3 separate regions of the Homo sapiens genome follow, and all the other regions are linked to region 1. The links are contacts of gene promoters, found by promoter capture Hi-C in blood cells and fetal thymus (Javierre and others, 2016). All regions are on one chromosome and are shown on one strand. Each heading gives the region's core, a stretch centred on a gene start or on the middle of the fragment in contact. The rest is flanking DNA. Distances are from core to core; before and after follow the strand shown. Region 1 holds the start of RANBP10 (RAN binding protein 10). Region 2 overlaps RIPOR1 (RHO family interacting cell polarization regulator 1). Region 3 holds the start of AGRP (agouti related neuropeptide).

Region 1 (3,233 bases), core at 175-2,674:
AAAATTTTTGTTTTAATCCGTATGTATGGCTCTCCAGGCTGATGGAGCTGGTCATATTTTGCAGTACCCAGAGGCTATACACCTGAGTACAGGCAGAAGCTACCCAGAGGATGATCTCTCCAGGCTTCTAAAGTATTTCTTTACTTGTTCAATGGTAATATTACTACTTTATACAGTTGTTGTGAGGATTAAATATGGTACGTAGGCCGGGTGTGGGGGTTCACGCTTGTAATCCCAGTTTGAGAGGTCGAAGTGGGAGGGTCGCTTGAGTCTAGGAGTTCGAAACCAGCCTGGGCAACGTGGTGAAACCTCGTCTCTACAAAAAACAAACGAACAAAGAAACACCCAAAAATTAGCCAAGCGTAGTGGCGCATGCCTGTAGTCCCAGCTACTCGGGAGGCTGAGGTAGAAGGATCGCTTGAGCCCGGGAGGTCGAGGCTGCAGTGAGCCGTAGTAGTGCCACTGCACTCCAGCCTGGGCGACAGAACGAGATCTTGTCTCAAAAATAAAATATTTAAAAATGTGGTATATAAAGCATTTGGCATATAGTACATTCAATACAAGCTGGTTGTTACTAGTAATGATAAAGTGCGCCTACCGTTTTGCTAGCACGTAACGTCTTCACTGGGCTAAATCAGCCCGATTCTAACCATTGACTCTGTGGTGCTGGAGCCCTAGATCAATGGTCAGAGGCCAGCAGGAGGTGCAGAGGTCCGGATCAAGTGCCATTTCCCTCTCTAGAAGTACTCAAACCCTCATCTCTGCCCTCATCCCTGCCAGCGCCTACCTCGACGCGGACGAGAAGCTGTGGTACCGCGACTGCTGGCAGGCCATGACCCACGGGCAGGCGGGCAATCAGCACCCGCGGCCTGGGAAGCTGTGGTAGCGTACAGCCGGTCGCCATGGCGACCAGGCCCCAGAGGCCCCCCCGCGGCGGGGGCGGAGTCAGGGATGCGCCACGCCCCCGAGCCTAGCGCCCGCGGGCTGGGAGTAGGACAAAGTAGCAAAGGTGGACTGGGACCCGGCAGCGGGTGCCCTGAGAGTCAACCACTACAGCCGATTTGACCCCAGGTACCAGAACTGAGGCAGGGGGATGAACAGAGGCCATGGGGAGGGAAGTGTGCTGAGAGGCCGGAGCCGCTTTGCCGGCGGGAATGGTAGTTTTCGGTGTCCCGACGTCTCGATGGGACAGGCTTATGGCTGAGGACGGTTATACTACATCTCCCAGAATTCTCTACCAGCCCGAGTTGCTCCGCCTCTCGAGAGCTCTGCATTGTGGGGTATGGAGTTCGAAATGTGGTAAGGCGTGTCAGTGTCCAAAGAGGGGTGCCGGACTCGGACTCGGTTTCCCTGCGGCCCAGGGAGGCTCACGGGCCATTGGCTGAGCGGGGCGGATCTGGTCCCGCTCCTCCCCGCCCCCAGTGACACAATAGTAGCTCCCTCCAAGATGGCGGCAGCGACGGCAGACCCGGGAGCTGGGAACCCGCAGCCTGGGGACTCCTCCGGCGGGGGCGCTGGGGGCGGGCTGCCGTCCCCTGGGGAGCAGGAGCTGAGCCGGCGCTTGCAGCGCCTGTATCCCGCGGTCAACCAGCAAGAGACTCCGCTGCCGCGCTCCTGGAGCCCCAAGGACAAATACAACTACATTGGTCTCTCCCAGGGCAACCTCCGCGTCCACTACAAAGGTATCGGCCCGTCAGGCTGGGGGGAATTAAGGCTAGAGCGTCCGTGGGGTGGCTCTGCTGCCAGGCCCCCGCCCTATCACCTCCCTTTCCCTGCCTAGGTGCTCCAAGTTAGGGCTTGGCCCTTTCAGGATGTCCAGGGTGGTGAGGCTGAACAGGCCGAGGGCTGACTGCCTGTTCTCTGTCCTGAGACACCTGCCGTCAAGAGAACCGCAACAGGTGTCCAAACCCAGTGCTGGGCCGGACCTTCCACTCCAGGGCCTCCGTGCTTATCCTAGGCTGGCGCCAACGGCAGCGGGACCTTTCGCCACTGCTTAGAAGAAAGGGGTGGTCACATACCTACCATTAGCGTGAGACTCATGGGCTTCCCCACCTGCCAGGCATCCTAGACTGAGCCTGGGGTTCCGTGCTAGAGTTTGGGGGGTGTCTTCCAGGTCGGCCTCATCCTTCTTCCCCTGGCCTCCCAGGTGGGCTGCCTGGATTCTAGAGAGGCTGCCAGCAGCACTTGAGTATCTCTCACATTGCCTCTACCCTTGTTTTGTTTGTATGGGCAGTGTCTCAGGCAGGACTGCTGTTCTCAGGAGGAGGTGAGGCAAAGGTGGAAGGTTTAAGTGTTTATTCAGTTGTCTAATGATTCCTCGGCCTGTGTAAGTGCGTCCTCTGGCCACAGAGGAGTGGAGTTGTCATGGAGGAGTTGCAGAGAAAAATGAGGCTTCCATTTGCATTTCCTTCTGCTGAAATTTCTTACTTGCCCTCTCCTGTTAGGTCATGGCAAAAATCACAAAGATGCGGCCTCAGTGCGTGCCACCCACCCCATACCTGCTGCCTGTGGCATTTATTACTTTGAAGTGAAGATTGTCAGCAAAGGAAGAGATGGGTAAGCCCTTCATGACCACCCTCTTTCCCTGATCATGGAGCTGATCCCTGTGGTCAGAGTTCAGGTCCTTTGGCTGGCACTTGTTGCTGATGTGAGCTGGGGAGCCGCATGGGTCTGGGCTGCCATTATTTCCTGACTGTGGGCATGGTCTGGTCTAAGCAGCAGATCTTGATGGCCAGTGGGTGTGTTGGGGGTAAAGCAGGGATTATTTTTAGTGATGATGTAATTTGATACCTAGAAGGTTAGGCAAACAAGTAACAAGTTTACTTTAAAAATTTAGTGTCCAGAATGGAGTTTCCCTCATGAGCATGTGGTGTTTTTGTGACTTCCTTCCTTTCACATTCTTGCTGTATTCATGAGGTTCTTTTTTATGGCATTTAGTCATGTGGAGGCCCTGGTAGCCTTCAAAGAGATAGTAGAGTCTTTGCAGCATTCATGAAAGCTTCTGTGGCCACCGGCCTGTCATCTCAGGGTAAACAGCATACACATGATCAGAATCAGGTGACCTTGCTGCTCATAAACTTGTTTTTCAGTCCAAGGACTTGAACACTACTAGTTGGATCAACTTTAGGAAGGTCCTCATTAAAGTCAGCATTAGGAGCCAGGCACGGTGGCTCACGCCTGTAATCCCAGCAATTTGGGAGGCTAAGATGGGCAGATCACCTGAGGTCAGGAGT
Region 2 (3,669 bases), core at 434-2,933, 260 kb after region 1:
AGCTCCTGTCCCCTTCCGATCCTCACACCCACCCCTGGCTAGAGCTGAATACTAGGCTCTGGCCTCAGGACTCTGCAGAGCACAGAGTCTAGGGTCTGTCCCTTCCCAGCATTGGAGAGCAGGGATTCTTAGTGACAACGCCAGTGGACCCCTTGGCTGGGATGATGACATTTTTCCATCCTCCATTTCTTGCCCAAGCCCTGCTCTCTCCTGTGTACTGAGCTGTGAGCTCATGCAGGCTCAGTCACCCCCATCTGCACTTTCCCAGGACCTGGTCAACCAGTGTTCACTTCCTCTTCCCCCACCATGACAGGCTATGCTTTTGATGCAGGTGGATAGCCCTGCTCTACCAATGGGCCTCTTGTGGGGGCCTCAGGACTGAGGGCTGCTAGGGGCGGTTCTGGGATTGCCGGCCTCCTCCAGGGACCCCTGGGGCAGGCCCCAGCTGTGGCCAGCCTTGGGTGCTGGCCTGGTCTCCATCATTTGTTTGCCTCCTCTGCCCCATGCTGCTCCAGCTCACCACCCCAAATACTGAGCTGCACCATCCCGTGCCACCCTTCGTTACCCAGAGAGCAAAGAGCCGCGCCAGTGTGCAGAGGGCTGCCTGCCTGCCCCTGCCCACCCTCGCCCCAGCGTCTGGAATGAGCCACTTGCATCCACACAGGTGCTTCCTGTGCTTCTTCCTGTTGCCGTTTTTTCTGCTCAGCTTGGCTTCCCCAGCAGGTGGTTAAAGCCCCAGCCAAACCTCTTCATACCTAGCTCTAAAACACTGGGGGGCAGGGCTCCCTGGGGATCTGGGTCACCCTCCAGAGGACTGTTGGCACTTCACTGGCTCTTCCTGAGGGCAGGCTCCCCAACGTGACACGTCCTGCACAGGCCAAGCTGCTGCCACAGGTACTGGGACATCAGAGTGGCCTCAATGAGTCAGGGAAGTGCTGCGTATGCACCACCTCCTTGCCCCTGGATACTGGAAGTGCTGAGGGAGAGGGGAAGGGTGGAGAGCCTGTTTCTCTAGCCACGGGTGTGGGCCTCCCTCAGCCCCTCCTTAGAACAGGCCTGCCATCCTGAAGTCCCACCCCACACTCCAGTTCCTCACGCAGGACTCAGCCTTCTGGGGTTAACACATTCACTGGCCAGGCAGCTCTGGGGCAAGGCGAGGCGGGGCAAAGGCAAGCCCTCTCCTGGGATCTCTGCTTCCTGAAGCAGCACAGGTTGGCCGGCTGTTGGGGATCACAGAGTTCAGGCACGTTTGTTATTATAGAGGGGGAGACAGCTGGAGAGGGAAGGGACTTGCTGTCTTGGGTCACAGGTTAGCCATCCAGGTCTCCTGCCTCCCAGGTCCCAGCTCTTCCCCTCCGCAAGGAGCTCCTCTCCCCTGCCATCCAGCTTCAAGGAGCTCCTTCAGCCCCCTCTGCAGAAAGCTGCCCAGGCTGCAGAAGACCCAAACCTGGCATCTGCTGACGCGGATCTGCTGCCCCCTGGTGGGCAGAAGCTCCAGCCACCCCGTGCCTCCTTTCCCTTCCTGTTTTTCCTTTCCCTTCCCCTTTGCTCCCAGGCCACAGCCTGGGATTGGCACCCTTTGGTGTTTTCTGGGCCAACTCCAGTTTAGCTCCACCTTGGGCCGTAGTTCCCAGGCCCAGGGTAGGCCCCACCTGCAGGCTGAACCACCCTTTTCCCCTGCTCTCTTCTCCAAGCCCAGTTCCAGCCTCTGGGCTTTCTTCCACCTGAATTTCCAGGGCAAGTGCACATGGCACTGTCACAGCTGCAGTGTGAACACACCAGTGTCAGGCAGGGCCACAGCCAGAGGGTGTTGGAGCAGAGGGTCAGGAGTGTACCAGGCCATGTAGGAAAGACATTTTGCTTTTTTATTTTCTGTAAAACTCTGTAAATAAAATACAAAACCAAGGGATGTGGCTGGGCAGCGGCAGGGTGGCCAAGCCCCAGACACTGATTTGTGGCAAGGGATGTGCTGAGCCGAGGCTGGGAGGCACTTGACTGCAGGCACTGACTCTCCAACCCCAGGGGCAACAGAAGAATATATTAGATTTTCATTGCTAGGAATCTGTGGGGGAGGGGTATCTGGAGCCAGCCCTTACCCTCCCTGCCAGTGCCTGGTGAGCCCTGAAAGTGGGGGGAAAGGGGCACCAGGAACCCATGGGTGAATAGTTTAGAATGCTGTGCTGGCCATGCTGCCAGGCCCAAAGATGCGGGGCAGGGCGTCCAGGGACTCCTCCAGCCGTCGATGGGCAGACTGTCCCTCTTCTCCTGTAATGAGTGAGGATGAGGTCAAGGGTGGCCCTAGCCCCATCCCACTCTCCCACCCCTGGCGCCATCTCTCCTACTCCCATCAGCCAAGATGTCCCAGAACTCCACCCATCTCTTCCATCCCCCAGCCTCACCACACTGCTGTAGGCTTTGCCGGGCAGCTTCCCTCACAGCTTCTGTGTCAGTTTGGCAGAGGTACACCAGGGGCTCAATGCCCTCGGGAGCCTGTCAGGGGAGGGAGCATTGAGGTGGGCTCAGGGGAGCAGATGGGAGGGTTTCAGGGGTGGGGGTGCCGGAAGCGGACAGAGGGGTGGGAGGGTTGGCAGGGGTCACCTTGATGCAGCCTAGGGCCAGGCAGCCAGCCACTCGAGTCTGCACGTCCTCATCCTCCAGCTGGTCCAGGAAGCACAGGAGGGCCTGTGGAAGGGTGGGAGGACAGACTTAGCCAGACAGTGGGAGTCCAGGACCCCAGCCCTCGCCCTCAAGGGAGCCCTGTCCAACTCACCCTCTCCCGGAAGGTAGGGCCCAGTGACAGGCTCCGGAGCTGGGTGCTGACAGCAGCCATGACCTTGTTGTTGCCATGGACGAGCAGGGAGCTGAGGGCCCGCAGCCCGTCCCTTCGCAGACGCCCCTCGGGCGCCAATCTCAGGGCCTTCAGCACAACAGCCTGATCATCCGAGTTCAGATTCCGCACCAGTAGCACTGAAAAAAGGGGATATGGTGGGTGGGTGGGCAAGGTGGCAGGGTGAGGAGCCCCCGAGGTTGGGGAGGGCTTGTCCTCATGTCCTCAGACCCCAAGAGGCCACTATGTGATCAGGGCCACCGCCTCACCCTCCTCAGCGGTCTCAGTCACGTAGGCCTCCATGGTGGGGCTGTCCAAGGTTTCCACAAAACTCCAGAACTGGAAGACTGTGAGCTGCTCTCCAGGCCCTGGCTGGGGCCTTCTGGGCAGCTTCTGCCCCAGGGCATCCTCCAGGAACTTCACACACACTGCAGGAGGCAGTAGCATGGGCCTCAGAGTTTGGGTGAACACAGCTTTTAGAGGGGAGAGATGCTCCTATCCCAGGCTCAGGTCCAGGGGCCCCCTGTTCAAACCCCACCCATCTGGGTCCTTCTGCTCTAAGGCCCAAGTCTTTGCTGGTCTCCTCGGTGCCCAGTTCGTTTATCTGTGTGGGCTGACCTGGCTTCCCCGAGCTTCCTGTCACTGGGAATCTGAGCAAGGGTGGAAGGAGGAAGCAGCCCACTCACCAGCCTCAGCCAAGCCTGGCTGGCGCAGGGAGAGGCGGGCACCATACTGGTTGCAGAAGGTGAGAAGCACCCGCTCCACCGGGCAGAGGAAGCAGCTGAGTCTCTCTGTGCACTGGTCCCAGAAGGTCAGGAAGCCAGGCCGAGAGGCCGAGAACT
Region 3 (3,414 bases), core at 5-2,504, 320 kb after region 1:
TCCCACTCTGTCCACACCAGACCATGAAGAGCTCTCCATAGCATGGGTGCTGACCAGGCCCAGCCTGGGTGACAGAGTGAGACCCTGACTCAAAGAAAAAGACATAATGAGGTGTGATTTTAATTTCTTGGATGTCCCAGTATATATAAATGTTGGGAGTATGGATTGCTTCATTTCATTTTAAATAGCATTTTTTTTTTAAGATGGAGTCTCACTCTGTCACCCAGGTTGGAGTGCAGTGGTGCGATCTCTGCTCACTGCAGTCTCTGCCTCCCGTGTTACAAGTGATTCTCCTGCCTCAGCCTCCCGGGTAGGTGGGATTACAGGCATGTGCCACCATGCCTGAATAACTTTTGTATTTTTAGTAGAGATAGGGTTTCACCATATTGGCCAAGCTGGTTTGAACTCCTGACCTCCAGTGATCCGCCCACCTTGGCCTCCCAAAATGCTGGGATTACAGGCGTGAGCCACCGTGCCTGGCCACCCTTTATCTTCTTTTCTTTTTGAGACAGGATCTTGCTCTGTCGCTCAGCCTGGAGTGTGGTGATGCAGTCATAGCTCACTGCACTCTTGAATCCCTGTGCTCAAGCCATCCTCCCACCTCAGCCTCTACTACAGGCATGCACCACTACACCCAGCTATTTTTTTATTTTTTGTAGCAACGGGGTCTCACCATGATACCCAGGCTGGTCTTAAACCCCTGGCCTTGTGATCCTCCCACCTTGGCCTCTCAAAATGCTGGAATTACAGGTGTGAGCCACCATACCTGGCCCCCTTCATCTTTTTTCCACTGCCTTGTGCCAACCCAGTTTGTGCACTGGGGCCTTGCGATCCTCTCAAAGCTGATTCAGCCTGCATTCCTTTCCCAGATGGACACGTGTGTGATAAACAGCTCTGCAGTGGGGTGAGGGAAGGCAGGGGCAGCAGGGTCCTGTATGTCCTGCCATCTCCACAAAAGGGCAGTCCTTACCCCAGCCTTGTGCTGATGAGACCAGGCATAGACAGTCCTGACGACACAGGGCGGAAGGGAGCAGCCATTAGTGCTAATGAGGCAGGCGGCCTGAAAGCTTTGTACTCTGCAGTGGCTCGCCCACCCAGGGAACAGTTCGTTCTGTTTCCTTGGCTTCCAGGAACCCTAGGCAGAAAGGGGTTTGGGGACAGGAGCAGGAGTGGGCGGTCTTGGAGAAACCTGGAGGGAGAAAGGGAGGGGAGGACCAGAAATGTAGTCAGGAGGGCCTAGGATTGGTTAGGTGGGCTTTTCCTTCCCCTTTCCCTCCAAAGAAACCCAGGTTCTGGTTCTGCACCTACCCCTGCCCAACAGTGGCCATTGGCCCATCACCCGCTCCAATGTCCTTGACCCGAATTCTTGGAAGCACAGGAAACAACATGCCACATAGGGGTTGAGTAAGCATCTCTGGGGCCACAAATTAAATTAAGCTTTCAGGGCCGCCTGCCTTGTTATTGCTAATGGTTCTAGCCCTGCTCAGCTCCTAGGTCCCTGTCCTGTGGAAATTTGTGGACCCTGGGCACCCTCTCTTGCTCCCAAATTTTAATCGGCTCCTGGAAACCTCACCCCAAATTGGAGATAGGCACTCCTCTTGTAGAACAAAAGGCTCAGGTTCAGGGAGTGAGGGCCTGAACTGTGCCCCCACCCTCCAGGAAGGGTCCTTCACGGCCTGGCTGCAGGGATCAGTCACGTGTGGCCCTTCATTAGGCCCTGCCATATAAGCCAAGGGCACGGGGTGGCCGGGAACTCTCTAGGCAAGAATCCCGGAGGCAGAGGTGAGTCCTCAGGTTGGGCAGGGACTCCTCCTCTCTGTGGGGTCTCTATCTGGGCACCTAGAGGGGACTCCAAGGATAAGGAGGGACTAAGTGGTACATCTTCCTGCTGAGCCAGGCCATGCTGACCGCAGCGGTGCTGAGCTGTGCCCTGCTGCTGGCACTGCCTGCCACGCGAGGAGCCCAGATGGGCTTGGCCCCCATGGAGGGCATCAGAAGGCCTGACCAGGCCCTGCTCCCAGAGCTCCCAGGTCAGTGTGAGCAAGGGTGGGACTGGGCGGGGCCTGAATACCCTCTGGCCACAAATAGTCTCCCCTGGCATAAACCCTCTTTCTCCCTTCCCAAACCCTCCCCTGGGAGGTGGGTGCTTTGTGCATGGGGGTTCCTGCCCTCACATCCTCTGCCCCAGGCCTGGGCCTGCGGGCCCCACTGAAGAAGACAACTGCAGAACAGGCAGAAGAGGATCTGTTGCAGGAGGCTCAGGCCTTGGCAGAGGTAACTGCTCAGGGAAAAGGGTAAGGTGGTGGCCCTTGGGAGGGGGCATTGGGTATTAGCTCCTCTCCCCAGCTCCAAACTCCCTCACCAGCGACGACACTACCGACCACCCCTTCCCATGCTCCACTGCCATCCTGCACAGGTTGGGACAGGTAAGATCCCTGGATCTGTCTTTAGAGGCCTGTGCTGGTTCCCCACCCCTGCAGGTACTAGACCTGCAGGACCGCGAGCCCCGCTCCTCACGTCGCTGCGTAAGGCTGCATGAGTCCTGCCTGGGACAGCAGGTGCCTTGCTGTGACCCATGTGCCACGTGCTACTGCCGCTTCTTCAATGCCTTCTGCTACTGCCGCAAGCTGGGTACTGCCATGAATCCCTGCAGCCGCACCTAGCTGGCCAACGTCAGGGTCGGGGCTAGGGTAGGGGCAAGGAAACTCGAATAAAGGATGGGACCAACCCCAAGGCTGTGGTTATTTCAAACGTGGCCGTCAAAGGAGGGAGGGTTCATGGAGGGGGTGGGAGTGTCACCAAGCCAAGAAACCACACATACTCTTATCCCAGGGCCTGGGCTACCCTATCATAGGAGGCACATACACGGGCGCTTTTAGGGGTCCTGGTGCCCCTGGGAAAAATAGAGAAGAGCCGCACTCCAGCTTTCGAAAATCTTGTACAGCAAGTGCGGGGAACGCAGGACGCAGCGTGGCACAGGGGCTATCACTCCTGGCTAACAAATAAGCCTTAGGCTCCAGGGCTTGCTGCTACTTCCACGCAAAGCCTGCCCCTCATCCTGTTACCAGAGGGAAGGCCAGGAGTGTGCGTTGTTCAGGTCCTTAGCGTTTCGAACAAAGAATTGAACAAAACCCAGAAAGTAACAAACGAATGACACACAGGAAGGAAGCAGACAGCTGGGATTTGTTAAAGCGAGAAAGCACTACGCAGGGTGGGAGTGGGCCTGAGCAAGAGGCTGAAGGGGCTCAGTTACAAAGTTTTCCGGGTTTTAAGTACTCCTTTTGCGGTCCCTGTCCGTTACCCCTTATCTGGATGAAGGGTTTGGTCCATGGCTAATTAATCCATTTATGCCTGAGGTTGCAATCTTTTTGAATTTTTGCAATCAGACCTTGGCCATGACCTTGAGCAGTAGGA

The links. Contacts are between HindIII fragments. The CHiCAGO score rates a contact against its expected background, and 5 or more counts as called.
Region 2: a contact is called between a fragment that was not itself captured here and the fragment with the promoter of RANBP10 in region 1, in 1 of 17 cell types (neutrophils). The highest score is 6.1, in neutrophils.
Region 3: a fragment that was not itself captured here is called in contact with the fragment with the promoter of RANBP10 in region 1 in 1 of 17 cell types (naive B cells); the score reaches 6.1 in naive B cells.

What each region holds. Positions count from the first base shown.
Region 1 is chr16:67,804,751-67,807,983 of GRCh38, reverse strand. RANBP10 (RAN binding protein 10) reads left to right here and starts at 1,424. Exons shown (of 14, transcript NM_020850.3): 1 at 1,424-1,682; 2 at 2,445-2,556. The coding sequence starts at 1,448. TSNAXIP1 (translin associated factor X interacting protein 1) reads right to left here and starts at 1,095. Exons shown (of 16, transcript NM_001288990.3): 1 at 788-1,095. The coding sequence starts at 834. RefSeq lists silencers at 866-985, 1,486-1,705 and enhancers at 1,126-1,355, 1,061-1,680, 1,681-2,301. The HindIII fragment of the contact is 6,221 bases long and covers 1-3,000 here.
Region 2 is chr16:67,544,962-67,548,630 of GRCh38, reverse strand. It overlaps RIPOR1 (RHO family interacting cell polarization regulator 1), which reads right to left. Exons shown (of 22, transcript NM_024519.4): 17 at 3,514-3,669; 18 at 3,097-3,255; 19 at 2,771-2,967; 20 at 2,599-2,682; 21 at 2,400-2,490; 22 at 1,845-2,265. The coding sequence ends at 2,168. Among named protein-coding and RNA genes, the nearest start is that of CTCF-DT, 16 kb to the left of the region's middle. RefSeq lists a silencer at 1,331-1,625 and an enhancer at 1,575-1,634. The HindIII fragment of the contact is 5,451 bases long and covers 1-3,669 here.
Region 3 is chr16:67,481,885-67,485,298 of GRCh38, reverse strand. AGRP (agouti related neuropeptide) reads left to right here and starts at 1,752. Exons shown (of 4, transcript NM_001138.2): 1 at 1,752-1,782; 2 at 1,898-2,030; 3 at 2,189-2,274; 4 at 2,481-2,728. The coding sequence starts at 1,901. The coding sequence ends at 2,663. It overlaps ATP6V0D1-DT (ATP6V0D1 divergent transcript), which reads right to left. Exons shown (of 4, transcript NR_184227.1): 2 at 971-1,189. The HindIII fragment of the contact is 370 bases long and covers 1,070-1,439 here.